Linked DNA regions of Homo sapiens: region 1 is linked to region 2. Evidence: promoter capture Hi-C in 16 types of primary human blood cells and fetal thymus (Javierre and others, 2016). All regions are on one chromosome and are shown on one strand. The core of a region is centred on a gene start or on the middle of the fragment in contact, and the rest is flanking DNA. Distances in the headings are between cores, read along the strand shown. Region 1 overlaps HIPK1 (homeodomain interacting protein kinase 1). Region 2 holds the start of DENND2C (DENN domain containing 2C).

The links. Contacts are between HindIII fragments. The CHiCAGO score rates a contact against its expected background, and 5 or more counts as called.
Region 1: a fragment that was not itself captured here is called in contact with the fragment with the promoter of DENND2C in region 2 in 1 of 17 cell types (total B cells); the score reaches 6.7 in total B cells.

Annotation. Positions count from the first base shown.
Region 1 is chr1:113,943,626-113,950,365 of GRCh38, forward strand. The region is part of intron 2 of HIPK1 (homeodomain interacting protein kinase 1); the gene reads left to right. Among named protein-coding and RNA genes, the nearest start is that of HIPK1-AS1, 17 kb to the left of the region's middle. The HindIII fragment of the contact is 2,475 bases long and covers 3,319-5,793 here.
Region 2 is chr1:114,665,348-114,671,656 of GRCh38, forward strand. It overlaps DENND2C (DENN domain containing 2C), which reads right to left and starts at 4,702. Exons shown (of 21, transcript NM_001256404.2): 1 at 4,636-4,702. LOC124904354 (a long non-coding RNA gene) reads left to right here and starts at 5,064. Exons shown (of 2, transcript XR_007066465.1): 1 at 5,064-5,303; 2 at 5,502-5,607. RefSeq lists a silencer at 4,706-4,795 and an enhancer at 4,916-5,075. The HindIII fragment of the contact is 6,814 bases long and covers 2,006-6,309 here.

The DNA of each region.
Region 1 (6,740 bases), core at 3,306-5,805, 720 kb before region 2:
TCTTTTGGGGATATAGCTAGGAGTGGAATTGCTGGGTCACATGATAATTCTATGTTTAACTTTTTGCAGAATTACCAAATTATTTTCCACAGAGGCTGCACTATTTTACATTCCTACCAGCAGTGGATGTGCATTCCAAATTTCTCCACATTTTCTCTAACATTTGTTATTTTTTTTATTTAAAAATATTGTTTGTTTATTTTTACAGAGACAGGGGCTGCCTCTATTGCTCATGCTGGAGTACAGTGGCACGATCATAGTTCACTGTAGCCTCCAACTCCTGGACTTGAGCAGTCCTCCCACTTCAGCCTCCCAAGTAGCTAGGACTGCAGTCACACTCCACCATACCTGGCTAATTACTATTATTTTATTTTTTGTGGCGACAGTGTTTTGAGGGTCTCATTTTGTTGCCCAATCTGGTCTCAAACTACTGGCCTCAAGCCATCCTCCTGCCTCAGTCTCCCAAAGTTCTGGGATTACAGGTGTGAACTACCACTCCTGGCCTTGTTTTGTTTTTTAAATAATAGCCATGGGTTTTTTTTTTTTTTTTTTTTTTTTTTTTTGAGATGGAGTTTCACTCTTGTTGCCTAGGCTGGAGTGCAGTGGTGCGATCTCGGCTCACTGCAGCCTCTGCCTCCCAGGATTCTCCTGCCTCAGCCTCCCGAGTAGCTGGGATTACAGGTGCCTGCCACCACACCCAGCTAATTTTTGTATTTTTAGTAGAGATGGGGTTTTACCATGTTGGCCAGGCTGGTCTCGAACTCCTGACCTCAGGTGATCTGCCCACCTTGGCCTCCCAAAGTGCTGGGATTACAGGCATGAGCCACTATGCCTGGCCAATAATAGTTTTTTTTTGTTTTTTTTTTGTTTTTTTTTTGAGATGGAGTCTTGCTCTGTTGCCAGGCTGGAGTGCAGTGGCACAATCTCGGTTCACTGCAACCTCCACCTCACAGGTTCAAGCAGTTCTCCTAGCTTGGCCTCCTGAGTAGCTGGGAATACAGGTGCCACCATGCCCAGCTAATTTTTGTATTTTTAGTAGAGACAGGGTTTCACCATGTTGGCCGGGATGGTCTCGATCTCTTGACCTCGTGATGAAGTGCTGGGATTACAGGCATGAGCCACCGGGCCCGGTCAATAATAGCCATTCTTATGGGTGTGAAGTGGTATCTCATTGTGGTTTTGATTTGTATTTCCCTAATGATTAATGATGTTGAGCATTTGTTTTATTTTGTTTTGTTTTGAGACAGAGTCCCACTTTGTCACCCAGGCTGGGGTGCAGTTGTGCAATCATGGCTTACTGCAGCCATGACCTCTCAGGCTCAAGCAGTCCTCCCACCTTAGCCTTTCGGGTACCTGAGACTACGGGCATGCACCCCCACACCTGACTAGTGTTTTGTATTTTTAGTAGAGACGGGGTTTCACTGTGTTGCCCAGGCTGGTCTCAAACTCATAGGCTCAAGTGATATGCCCGCCTCGGCAACCCAAAGTGCTGGGATTACAGACATGAGCCACCATGCCCAGCCTGGCATTTTTTTATGTGCCCGACATCTGTATATCTTCTTTGGAGAAATGTCTATTTAAGTCCTTTCCTCATTTCTTGAATTGGGCTTTTTGTTGTTGAGTTGTATACTCTATATACTTAATTTTCATCTATTCCTTGGGTTGCCTTTTTACCTGTTGATAGTGTTTGACACAGAAAAGTTTTTAACTTTGGTGAAGTGCAGTTTGTCTACTTTTTCTTTGGTTGCTTGTGCTTTTGGTGACATATCCAAGAAGTCACTGTTAAGTCGAAATCATACAGATTTTCCCCTATGTTTTCTGCTAAGAGTTTTATAGTTTTAGCTCTTATATTTTGGTCTTTGATTCTTTGTTGATTTTTGTCTATGGTCCAAGGTACAAATCCAGTGTAATTCTTTGGCATGTGACTATTCAGTTCTTCAAACACCATTTGCTAAGAAGATTGTCCTTTCTGCATTGGGTGGTTTGGGCACCCTTGTTGGAATCATTTGAACATATATACAAATAATTCTTATCTTCTATTGCTTTCCCATTTTCAATGTTGGGCTCTCTATTCCATTAATCTATATATGTCTTTATGCCAGTACCACATTGTTTTGATTATTGTAGCTTTGTAGTAAGTTTGAAATCAGGAAGTGTGAGACCTCCAACTTTGTTCTTTTTCAAGATTGTTTTGGCTATTTGGGGTCTTTGAGGGTCCATATAAATTTTAGGATGGGTTTTTCTATTTTATACAAAAACCATAATTGCTTTTTATTAAGGATAGCGATGAATCTGTAGATGACTTTGGGTAGTATTGACAGCTTAATAGTAAGTCAGTCCATCCTTATTTCTTTATATCTTTTCACAGTTTTATAAAACTGGTATTTTTTACTTGAGGTAAGGTAAATAAACTCTTAGAGCCTTTGTTTTCTGGTTTTATGCTGCCCTAGGCAACCTTGGCTAACTTTAAGAATGTCATCTCCATTTATTTATTTATGCCTTGGGAGATTTAGGTTCCAACTACATTTGCTTTTTAATGCTCTCCTTTGAGCAGTCTCACCACCAGCCACACCAACATAACATATATATAACATACTCTACAGGTGCACTGAAGAATTCAGCGCAGCATCCCATTTTGAGTCCTCAGGAGGGACTAGGCAGACCACAGCTGAAGGAAGAGGGCTGATCAGCTCTTCCTTTCTGTCTTGACTCTGTGCCTGCAGGTGTTCTTTAACTATTTGTTTGCCCTGTCAAAGACAAAGTGCATTCTCTTGTGATAACAGAGTAGTTTTTAAATTGAAAAAGGGAGAGCAATAGGAGATAAAAATTATTTGGCTTTGTTATAATTGGGGCATGTTAATACAAAATAAAATGAATTATTTGGCTGCTTAGCTTTCTGTAATGTGTAATTCATTTGAATAATTTTCAGTGTTAGGTTGCTGATCTTTGTATTTTTTATCCTTTTAATTTAAGCTGTCAATTGATTCATTTTGGTTTTGTTTTTTATAGAAACTAAGGTTTTCAAATCTTCAAAGTTACCCTTCGACAAAGCTTTCTTTAAATTCACTGCAATATAGTTGTTGACTATAATTTTAAGTGGAGCTAAGTTTGCCTCTTAAAAACAGGAGTTCATTCTGTGTATTACTGAGTAATTACTCTGTATACTGAAGTTCAGTGCCCAGGGCTTGACAGTGTTTAGGATTTAACATGAGTGTTCTGTTGTGTCACAGTAATACTTGATAATGAGCCTAAGGCAGATGGAACAGCAGCTCAGGCATTCCTTCTTTATCACTAGTTTTACCCGCAGTGGTCCTCTTAAGCTTCTTTGATGTTGCTTTGTTGCCATATTAGAGTCCATTAAGTCCTCACCCTTCTGTCTTTCAAAAAACCTCTGTGAAATCTGTTTGGCTGGTGAAGCATTTTGACTCCAAAGCTAGTCCTTCTCTTACCCACCTTTTTAGTTTACCTTGCTTTGTCTTTCTGATAATATGCCAGTATTATCAGCTCACATAAATTTGCCAACTTGCTGTGTCCATTGGCCCTGGGCATGGCTAAATGATTCAGGCAGTGGAAATAATATACTTTACTCTCTGGCTCACTGTAAATGTGCACAGACTCCAAGCAAAGCTCCTGTCTTTCGGGCTTGAGTTTTAGAGACAAAGGTTTGCCATGCTTACAGGCTGAATGTTTTTCCCTACTGAACAAACTAGCCAGCCTTTATTTCAAGCTGAATCACTTTGTTACTTACGGAAGGAAAAGGTCTAGAGAAGGAAAACGTATCTTCCATTTATCCTAGACAAACAAATAATCTAATTTCCTCTGGCAGTCAAAATATAGTTTCACCTAAGCCACTGATGCAGGAAGTTAGGTTTTATGTAACCTCTCTAATTGGTAAGTAAGTAGGTTTGATGTCTCTGAGATAGGAAGAAAGAAACGAAAATGTTCATGAAAATAATCAGAGTGATTTGTGTTAAGTGATCCTAACCTTAGCTTGCTCTGGGTGCCAGTGAAATTAACCTCAACAATGTTGGTTGGAAGAATTTTTCAACTTAAAGAAGTTTGAAGTTGGGGAATCAAAAGGCAGGGATTGTTGTTTCTATCACTTAGCTGTAATAACCAGAGCCTGTTTAGTATTTGTTTTTTAAGGATGGGATGTGTCTTCAAAGAGGAGACTTGCCATGTTCAAAGCACAATTAATGCCATTTTCCTACTGAAGTGAACACTGCCAGTTTTTAACAGTTTCTTTCACTTTCCTGTGCTTCTGTAGATAACCTTTTTTACTGCCCAGTTGTTGGAATGTTACAGCTGGAAAGGGACCTAGAAGAGTAATTATCTAACTCTGTTTCCTTATTACACAAATGAGGTAGAACCAGAGTTTTACGTGTCTGTAGAGTTTATATTGAGGGATTAAGAAATAAGGAGGCCAAGAGGAAAGATGTAATGAAAATAATTCTAATAATTATAATCTGGATTCACAGTTTAAAGTATTCAGTCCTTAGAGATAAACCTGCTCTAGTGATGCCTTACTGTTCAGTAAAGTAGAAAATAACTTGTCTTTTTGCTTCGTAGAGTTTGGGTAAGTCTAACATTTATAGGCCCAAATAATACAAAACCCTCAGTGAACTAAGCAGCCTTACTGCTTTTTTGTTTGTTTTTGAGACAGGGTCTCAGGCTGGAGTGCAGTGGCGCAATCATGGCTCACTGCAGCCTTGACCTCCTGGGCTCAAGTGATCCTTCCACCTCAGCTTCCTGAGTAGCTAGAACTGCAGGCATGCACCACCATACCTGGCTAATTTTTTAAATTTTTTTGGTAGAGATTGGGTCTTGCTGTGTTGCCTAGGCTGGTCTCAAACTCCTGCTCAAGTGATCCTCCTGCCTTGGCTTCCCAAAGTGCTGGGATTATAGGTGTGAACCGCCGTTTCTGGCCGTATTTTTTTTTTTTTTAAACTGCTTTCCTTTTTTTGTTTTTCCTTTTGCTATTTGCCTTTTTATAAGGTAGATACGGTAGAGTTGCTGTTTTGACTGAGCTTTTGCTGGAAGTCCTTAGCTGCTTTTGTCACTCCAAAAGCAGGGTGAGACCAAATGAAAAAACTTTCAGCTAATCTTCAGTTTTTTTTTTTAATTAAATGGGACTTGGGGGCTGTGGAAGTGATATTTTCCTTAATTTCCCAGAAAACTTTAAGCTCGAGACAGTTATCATATATTATTGCTACCTTTTTTATTTTTTTCTGAGACGGAGTTTCGCTCTTACGCCCAGTCTGGAGTGAATTGACGTAATCTTGGCTCACTGCAACCTCTGCCCCCCGGGTTCAAGCGATTCTCCTGCCTCAGCCTCTGGAGTAGTTGGGATTACAGGCGCCTGCCACCATGCCCAGCTAATTTTTGTATTTTTAGTAGAGACTGGGTTTCATCATGTTGGCCAGGCTGGACTTGAACTCCTGACCTCAGGCCATCCACGTGCCTTGGCCACCCACAGTGCTAGGATTATAGGCGTGAGCCACCGCGCCTGGCCTGTTATCGCTACCTTTTAAAGAAGAAAGTTATAGAGTGGCCTGGCCATTCTCTGTGACCTACCTTTTGGACTTTAAAATGTCTTTCTAGTATGGTAGGAATAGCAAAATCAATATGCTGCCCTCCAATTGATGCTTTGGAATGTTCTAAACCCAGTTTTTATTTTGGCTCATTGCCAGTTGTGCTCCCCCTGCCAGCTATTTTTGGCATTGTCATGAACTTGGAAATTAATGATTCTGCTCACTAGGAGTAGAAAATTTTGTTCCTTTTCAATTTTAGAAAAGCTTTTATGTTGTTTCTGGGTAGTCTTACTAGCTTATTAATGCGCCTGTCAAACTTGTGCAGTGTTGAAAACATGCCATTATGGTTGAGATTTCACTGAACTCTGAAATTCCATCAGTAATATGTGCCTCTAGCCACCTGCAACAGGAATATCACTTTTGAGGGTTACTTCTTTTCTTTTCTTTTTTTTTTTTTTTTGAGACAGAGTCTTACTCTGTCACCCAGGCTGGAGTGCAGTGGCACTGTGTCAGCTCACTGCAACCTCCGTCTCCTGGGTTCAAGCAATTCTCCTGCCTCAGCCTCCTGAGTAGCTGGGATTACAGGTGCCCGCCACCACACCTGGCTGATTTTTTATATTTTTAGTAGAGATGGGGTTTCACCATGTTGGCCAGGCTGGTCTCAAACTCCTGACTTCAGGTGATCCAGCCTCCTCGGCCTCCCAAAGTGCTTGTATTACAGGCATGAGCCACCGCACCCGGCCAGTTATTTCTTTGGTAAACAAAACCACAGTTCAAATTAAATACTACAAAAACTGATGATATTGGTGGTTCCACCCATAGCTGTTAAAAAGTGTAAGCCCGAAGAGGCCTGGGTCGACTGCTATTTGTATTTAAGGATCAGAAAAGCTTTCAGGCCCTGTGGAGTCCCCAGATTTACTGTTTTCTAAGGGCCACTATTTATGTATAAATACTAGGGGAGGATTTTTTTTTTCTTCTATGCCTAGTTTGCTTAGATGGGGAGGGATATTCTTATTTAGGGAAATTATATTCTCCTTGCTTAATCCTTGCCTTCCCTCAACCCCCTGCACATATACACAAAACAACAATAAGCACATATCACTTGAAAGTAGTTTGAGAAACCTGGGTATTCTGTGAGGAGACACGGCCAGTTAGATGGTTCTTCACGGAAAGATCTGTTTTCCATTTAACTCCTGTAACATGAGGAAT
Region 2 (6,309 bases), core at 3,452-5,951:
CCAGAAGATCTACGTTCTTGTGTAGCTGTGAATTTGCTATAAAGCTTTTTACAAAGAGAAGCTCCAATAATACTTTGGGCAATACAGACAGTCCCTGACTTAATGATGGTTTAAATTAACAATTTTTCAACTTTATGATGGTGCCAAAGCAGTATGTGCTCAGTACCCTCCTTAACTTATGATGGGGTTACATTCGGATAAACCCTTCGTAAGTTTATCACATGTTGACTAACAATATTTTCAACTTATGATGGGTTTATTCAGACATAACCCTATCGAAAATTGAGGAGCATCTGTACTTCTGGAATAAATGAGTGACTTCCAAATGAAATTTTAAAAGAACAGGACTCATTTGGATGTAAAAGTTGTTCAACTTTCAATTAAAATCCATTTCATTGCTTTATAATAATAATTTGTTGGACAAAATTAGCATAGATAAATAATTCCTTCTACTTACATAAAGCAAATCATTTATTCTTGGCCCTCTTCTCTTCTAATTCTACATACTCCCTTGAGCAATTTCATCTGCTCTTACGGCTTCAATTAACACTTACTGGCTACCTCTGAAATCTGAATCACCAATTTTAGCCTGGCTTCTGGACTCTAGATCCTCTCTCGACATCTCCACTTGAATGCTCCAAAGACAATTCAAACTCAACATGAATTCAAAATGGAAACAATTATCTTCCTCCAATATTAAAAAATAAAACAAGACCCTTCATCCAAACAGTTTTCCAAGCTAAAAAACTAAGTCATTTACTTTTCTGTTCCTCTTTTGAGCCAATTGATTTTAAAGCCCTGTCAAATTCTACACCTTCACTATCTATCCTCTCCTCTCCATCCCTATTACTATTTTCCTACTCCAGGCCCCTATCCTCCCTTATCTGGACTATTTCAATAGCAACAGCCTCCTAACTTATCTCCCTACCTTTTGTCTCTCTTCATCCAATTCAGCCTCCAAACCATTTTCAGCTTATCTTTCCTAAACACCTATATCTAAAATCCTTCACTGGCTCTCCATTGTCTTTAGAATCAAGTCCAAAGTCCTTAGCACGATACTCTGGCTCTTCAAGACCTAGCATCAGAAGACTTTTTTCCCTCTTTTTCTGAATCATAACTTTTTTTTTTAAAGACAGTCTCACTCTGTTGCCAGGCTGGAGTGCAGGTGCACGACCTCAGCTCACCGCAACCTCTGACTCCCTGGTTCAAATGATTCTCCTGCCTCAGCCTCCCAAGTAGCTGGGATTACAGGCACACGCCACCACACCCGTATAATTTTTGTATTTTAGTAGAGATGGGGTTTCGCCATGTTGACCAGGATGCTCCCGATCTCCTGACCTCTTGATCCACCTGCCTTGGCCTCCCAGAGTGCTGGGATTACAGGCATGAGCCACCACGCCTGGCCCTAAATCTTAACTTTTTACTTACCTAAGTCTGTAATGTTATCTTATATCTTGTACTTCAAAGTATTAAAAGTACCTTTAACACCATATTTTTTAGTGAAACATTCTGCCAAACTGAACTAATTACTCATTTCATTGTTCCAAATGAAGGGAAGTGAAATACCACATTACCTAGCAATTTTAGTGATCCTAATGCAATCAGCAAGGAAGCTTTGCAATTTTATTTTTTCATCTTATTTCCAGGCACCATCTCCTTTAGCCAAACCACCCATTTCTACACACCCTGGCCTTCAGTACAATGGACTACAACACATTCCTCAAACATACCATATACTTGCACACTTATCCCTGGTTTTCATTCATATCTCCTGTTTCCTGACCCAATTTCAGCAAACTCCTATTCATCCTTCAAAGCCAAATTTAATATCTTCTCTCTAATCGTCCTCCCTACCACACGCAGAATGATTTTTCCTCATCAGTGGTTAAATTCTATCTATACTTCTTTCTTTTTCTTGCAACTCTTCAAACGTACCTAAATCTATACTTCTTTACAGCTCTTATCATGCTGAAATTGTAGAGCCTTATTTACATGTTGGGTTATAAGCTTCTTAAAGACAGGGAAGCATTTTCTCTTCTTGAATCTAATACTTAATTTACAGTCTGAGAACAGATATTTTTAACTTCTTAATGAAAGAAGTTATGAGGTGCTTTTTAATGAAAAATAAGCACCTCATATTGTTAAGATAATGCCATAACTGTTGTTACTGAGGGACTGAGAGCTTAGAATCATCCCCATGTCATTCACTGGCAACAATAACAAAAAAAGGGTTCCCACAGATAAACTATAATTACATCGTTTTAATTGCAATAAAACTGGTATTGCAATACCAGTTTATTTTTTCCTCTTTCTTTCCTTCTTTTTGAAATAGTTTTTTATAGACCTCTTTTTAAAATACCTATTAGATGTCATTTGTATCTCACTCACAGAATTTGAAACTCAGTATAGCGCAAAGGTTACAATCAGGTCCTTGGAGAATGACTGATTTGAATCCTACTTTTGCTATCTAGGTTGTCTAATCATGGGCAAGTTACTCAACCTCTCTATGCCTCTTAATGAGATAATCATAATAACATCCCTCATGGTGCTGTTGTGAGGATTAAGTAAGCTAATACATGTAAAGAATTTAGAATACTGCCTGGCACAGACTAGGTACCAATGAATGATAGCTGATGTTGTTATTGTTACCATCCGCTTTAAAAACAGCTTTTGTTTTTTCAGTACTTATTTTAGCCCACTTGGTAGAATGGAATCTCCTAGATGACAGGAATTACATACTGCTCTTACATAAATATAATCTTGTGCCTATTGTGTAGTAGGCCCTCAAAAAACAATGTGAATGTAAGGTTTCAGACCTCCAAGATCAAGAAATTGTAAATCACAGAAAAATTTATACATGGAGTACGTTTAAAACTCATGTTTTAAAGTAGCTTCAAAAGACCCATCCTCCACTGAATTGCTGAAACATGTTTAAGTAAAACTTCTAAAGCAACACACACAAAAATTACATTCACTAGTAACTTTCCCTCTACTACTTCATTTAATTTGATCTTGGTATCCAGTGGTCTAAAATTCTTGCCTATAACTTAAGACTCACTACAGACCATTTAAAAGTAATATAATTTCCAGCTTTAGAAAACTGCTTATTGTCATTAAGAAAAATAAATATTCTTCCTTTATTGCTGCATTTAAAAAACGTACTGCCACATTCAACACACACACACACACACACACACACACACACACCCCAACTAATGAAAGACCAAGACACATAATTACTACATTTCCTGGTTTCTGCCTGGCAAACTCAGAACAGGCCTACAAGTATCCCCAGCAAAAGCCTACAGGTTACAAAACTGCCATTTTCTTTTTTATTTCCCATCTCCCCGCTAAAATCCCTCGCACACATATCCATAGTAAAGAACAAAAACGTCTATAATAAAGGCTGTATGAAAAAATATGGCTATATATTAACAATATTTTGGAAGATTTAAATCTTCCTATAAGCAGCCCGTCAATTCACAAAAACAAATTAAAGTCTTGATTTGGAACAATATTCCCAGCTTACTTTAGCAGGTATCTTAAACTACAACTATTTAGCTAAGACAAAGAAGTAGATTATTTGATTGCTACAGACTTCGCGGTAAATGATTCAGCAACAGTGTATAGATAACACCACTGTGCTATTCTAGAAAATTTCATCAATCATTTAAAAATAGGACACACTCAAACAATGGGGGTCACTTTGTGGGAAAAGTTTAAACAACTTATTTACACAGTAAGCAAGGATCTATCACTTTATCTAAAACACTGCAGAAGAATCACTAGCTTTAGGGTAAACGTTTGTAAAGTGCCTACTATGTACCAGGCAAGTAGTAGTTGCTTCACAGAATATACACGCTCCACACGCACGTTCAAATATCTGACATTTGTAGAATACTGTCACTCATCTGATTTGACCCTGAGAATACCCATAGGCATGAACTTGCCAGTTTCACAGTTACGGAAAGAGAGGCCCAGGAAGTTAATTTGGCCGAGGTATCACATCTGGTTCCGCGGGTTCTGGCCCTAGACTTGAGCCTTTTGACTCATAATCTAATCATCAGCTGCTATACAGCTCTAGTTACTCAAAAGCTCTTAGGTGTTCCACTGTCAGACTTTTAAATTAAAATTCTACTTGACAACTTTCGGTATTGTGCGTATTAGATGCTGTTAAGAATCAAAACACCAAAAAAAGCAAAATATTGTTTGGAAGTGCATCGTCCCAGCATGTCGAAGTTCAAGCTCACTGGCTAATTTTGGAGAAAGCCCGCGTTTCCCCAGGCTGCCGGGCGCTCCCTCCCTCTTCCCCAGCAGAGAGCGGCGCCCAGCCTAGGGGTCCCCAAGCCCCTGAGGTAGCGAGGAGGTCTTCAGCCAGGCTCCGCCACAACCCGTGCGGCCACGAGAGGACGTCCCAAAGCTGGGCCCAACAACCGGTTGCTCCTCCGGACGGAGGAGGTGCCGAGACAGCGGGGCGCGGAGACACCACCTCCGCCAGCTCGGCTCGCACCGTCCGAGGACTACGCCGCGGCGCCACAGCCCCGCACCCGACGCCCAGAAGGGTGATGCCGACAGCCCCGAGAGTCCGAAGCCCCTGCGGCTTAAAACCCCGCGCCGAATCACCCCGACTCTTACCTGTCTGTACCTCAACGTTGTCTCCTGTGGCCAAGCTAGTCTCCCGGGTATCACTCGGGTCCGCTCCGTCCCGCCCCCGCAGGCCCTGCCGAAGGCCCCGTCCCGGCTGCAGCCCCACCCCCTAGCCCCGCCCTCCCTGGCAAGGCTCAGTTCTTATTGGCTCCTATTCCCACCCCTCACGCTATGCCCGCCTCCGACACCGCCCCGGCCGGCGGTGAGGGGAACCACCACGCCTCAAGTCCGCTGTATGGCCAGAACCTTGCCAGGACCTCGGTCACTGCAGTTCCAGCAGGCGGGCGACCAGTGTCACCGTCGTCCGGCCAAGCCCTCGAGCCAGAGCTCCATCGCCTTCGCCTGCCGTCGCATCGGCCCCACGGAGACGGCCCTATGCTTCATGTGAAGGTTTACTCTTCACAACTACTCAACAAGATAAAGCCTGGCTTAATCAGGGAATCCAAGCACTGTTTCCTAGGCTGACCTCAGTGAGCAAACAATTGCACTACGGTGCCAACTTGAAACGTCAAGAGAAGCAAATAACTCTCGCGGCACCTCAGGCTTGGAATCTCAGAACGGGGGTGCCTTGATACTCCCAGTGCGTGAGGTCAGCCCCCACGCCCTGTTGAGACACACATGCCTAAGCGCTCCGCCTGCAACACGCTCTTGCTTAGGTATGTGCGTGGTGTTGTGCCTACTGCAAGCTGTAACCCAGTTTCACCGAGGCTGCGGGACAAGGATCAGTTGAGCCTGTTTCCCAGGCACTCGCTAACCACCCCACCCCGCCTCGCCCCGCCCCACCCCACCCCACCCCACCCAGCCAGAGCCTCTTGGGTCTGGTGACCAAACTCTTCCTACATTTGTTCACACAGAGGTACCAAAATAGAAGACTACCAGAAAGAGAGGTGTTTAGTTACGTATCACGGATGACTGTCACAAGCAAACTTAACCCAAACAATAAAGGTAGCATATCCCAAACCGTTGTGAAACTATCACCTGTAGACAGTAAAACAGAAATTACATTCTATGATGGGGGAAAAAAAAGTAATGACATACTTAAAAAAAATCATGTCCCAATGAGGAAATAAATGTGGATATTGTTTGTAGTAAATTTTGCACACTGATCATTATGGGCTTCCCCCACCAAAAAAAAAAAAATTCTTATATAATGTGTCTATCTATTTATTTATTGAGACAGGGTCTCTTTGTGTCACTCACACTGGAGTGCGGTGGCCCAATCATAGCTCACTTGAAGTCTCAACTTCCTAGGCTCAAAGAATCGTCCCACCTCGGCCTCCCAAGCAGCTAGTATTATAAGCATGCACCACCACCCCCGGCTAATATTTTTATTTTTATTTTTTTGTAGAGACAGGGTCTCGCTATGTTGCCCAGGCTGGTCTCCAACTCCCGAGCTCAAGCAGTCCTCCTGCCTCAGCCTCCCAAAGTGCTGGGATTACAGACATGAGCCACTGCACCCAGCCCAGAAATGTATTTTTTGACCCCTGCATTCAGGAAGATTATTTGGCAAAATAAGGCAGGTTGAATTCCAAGTATCACGTATGAAACCAAATTTATAGATTAATAAATGAATTCACATGTATGTATTCTACTGCCCTCTCATGGGTAAGATGGAGATATACATAATGGTAGTTAATGCCCTTTGAAGTCTGAGAATACAGT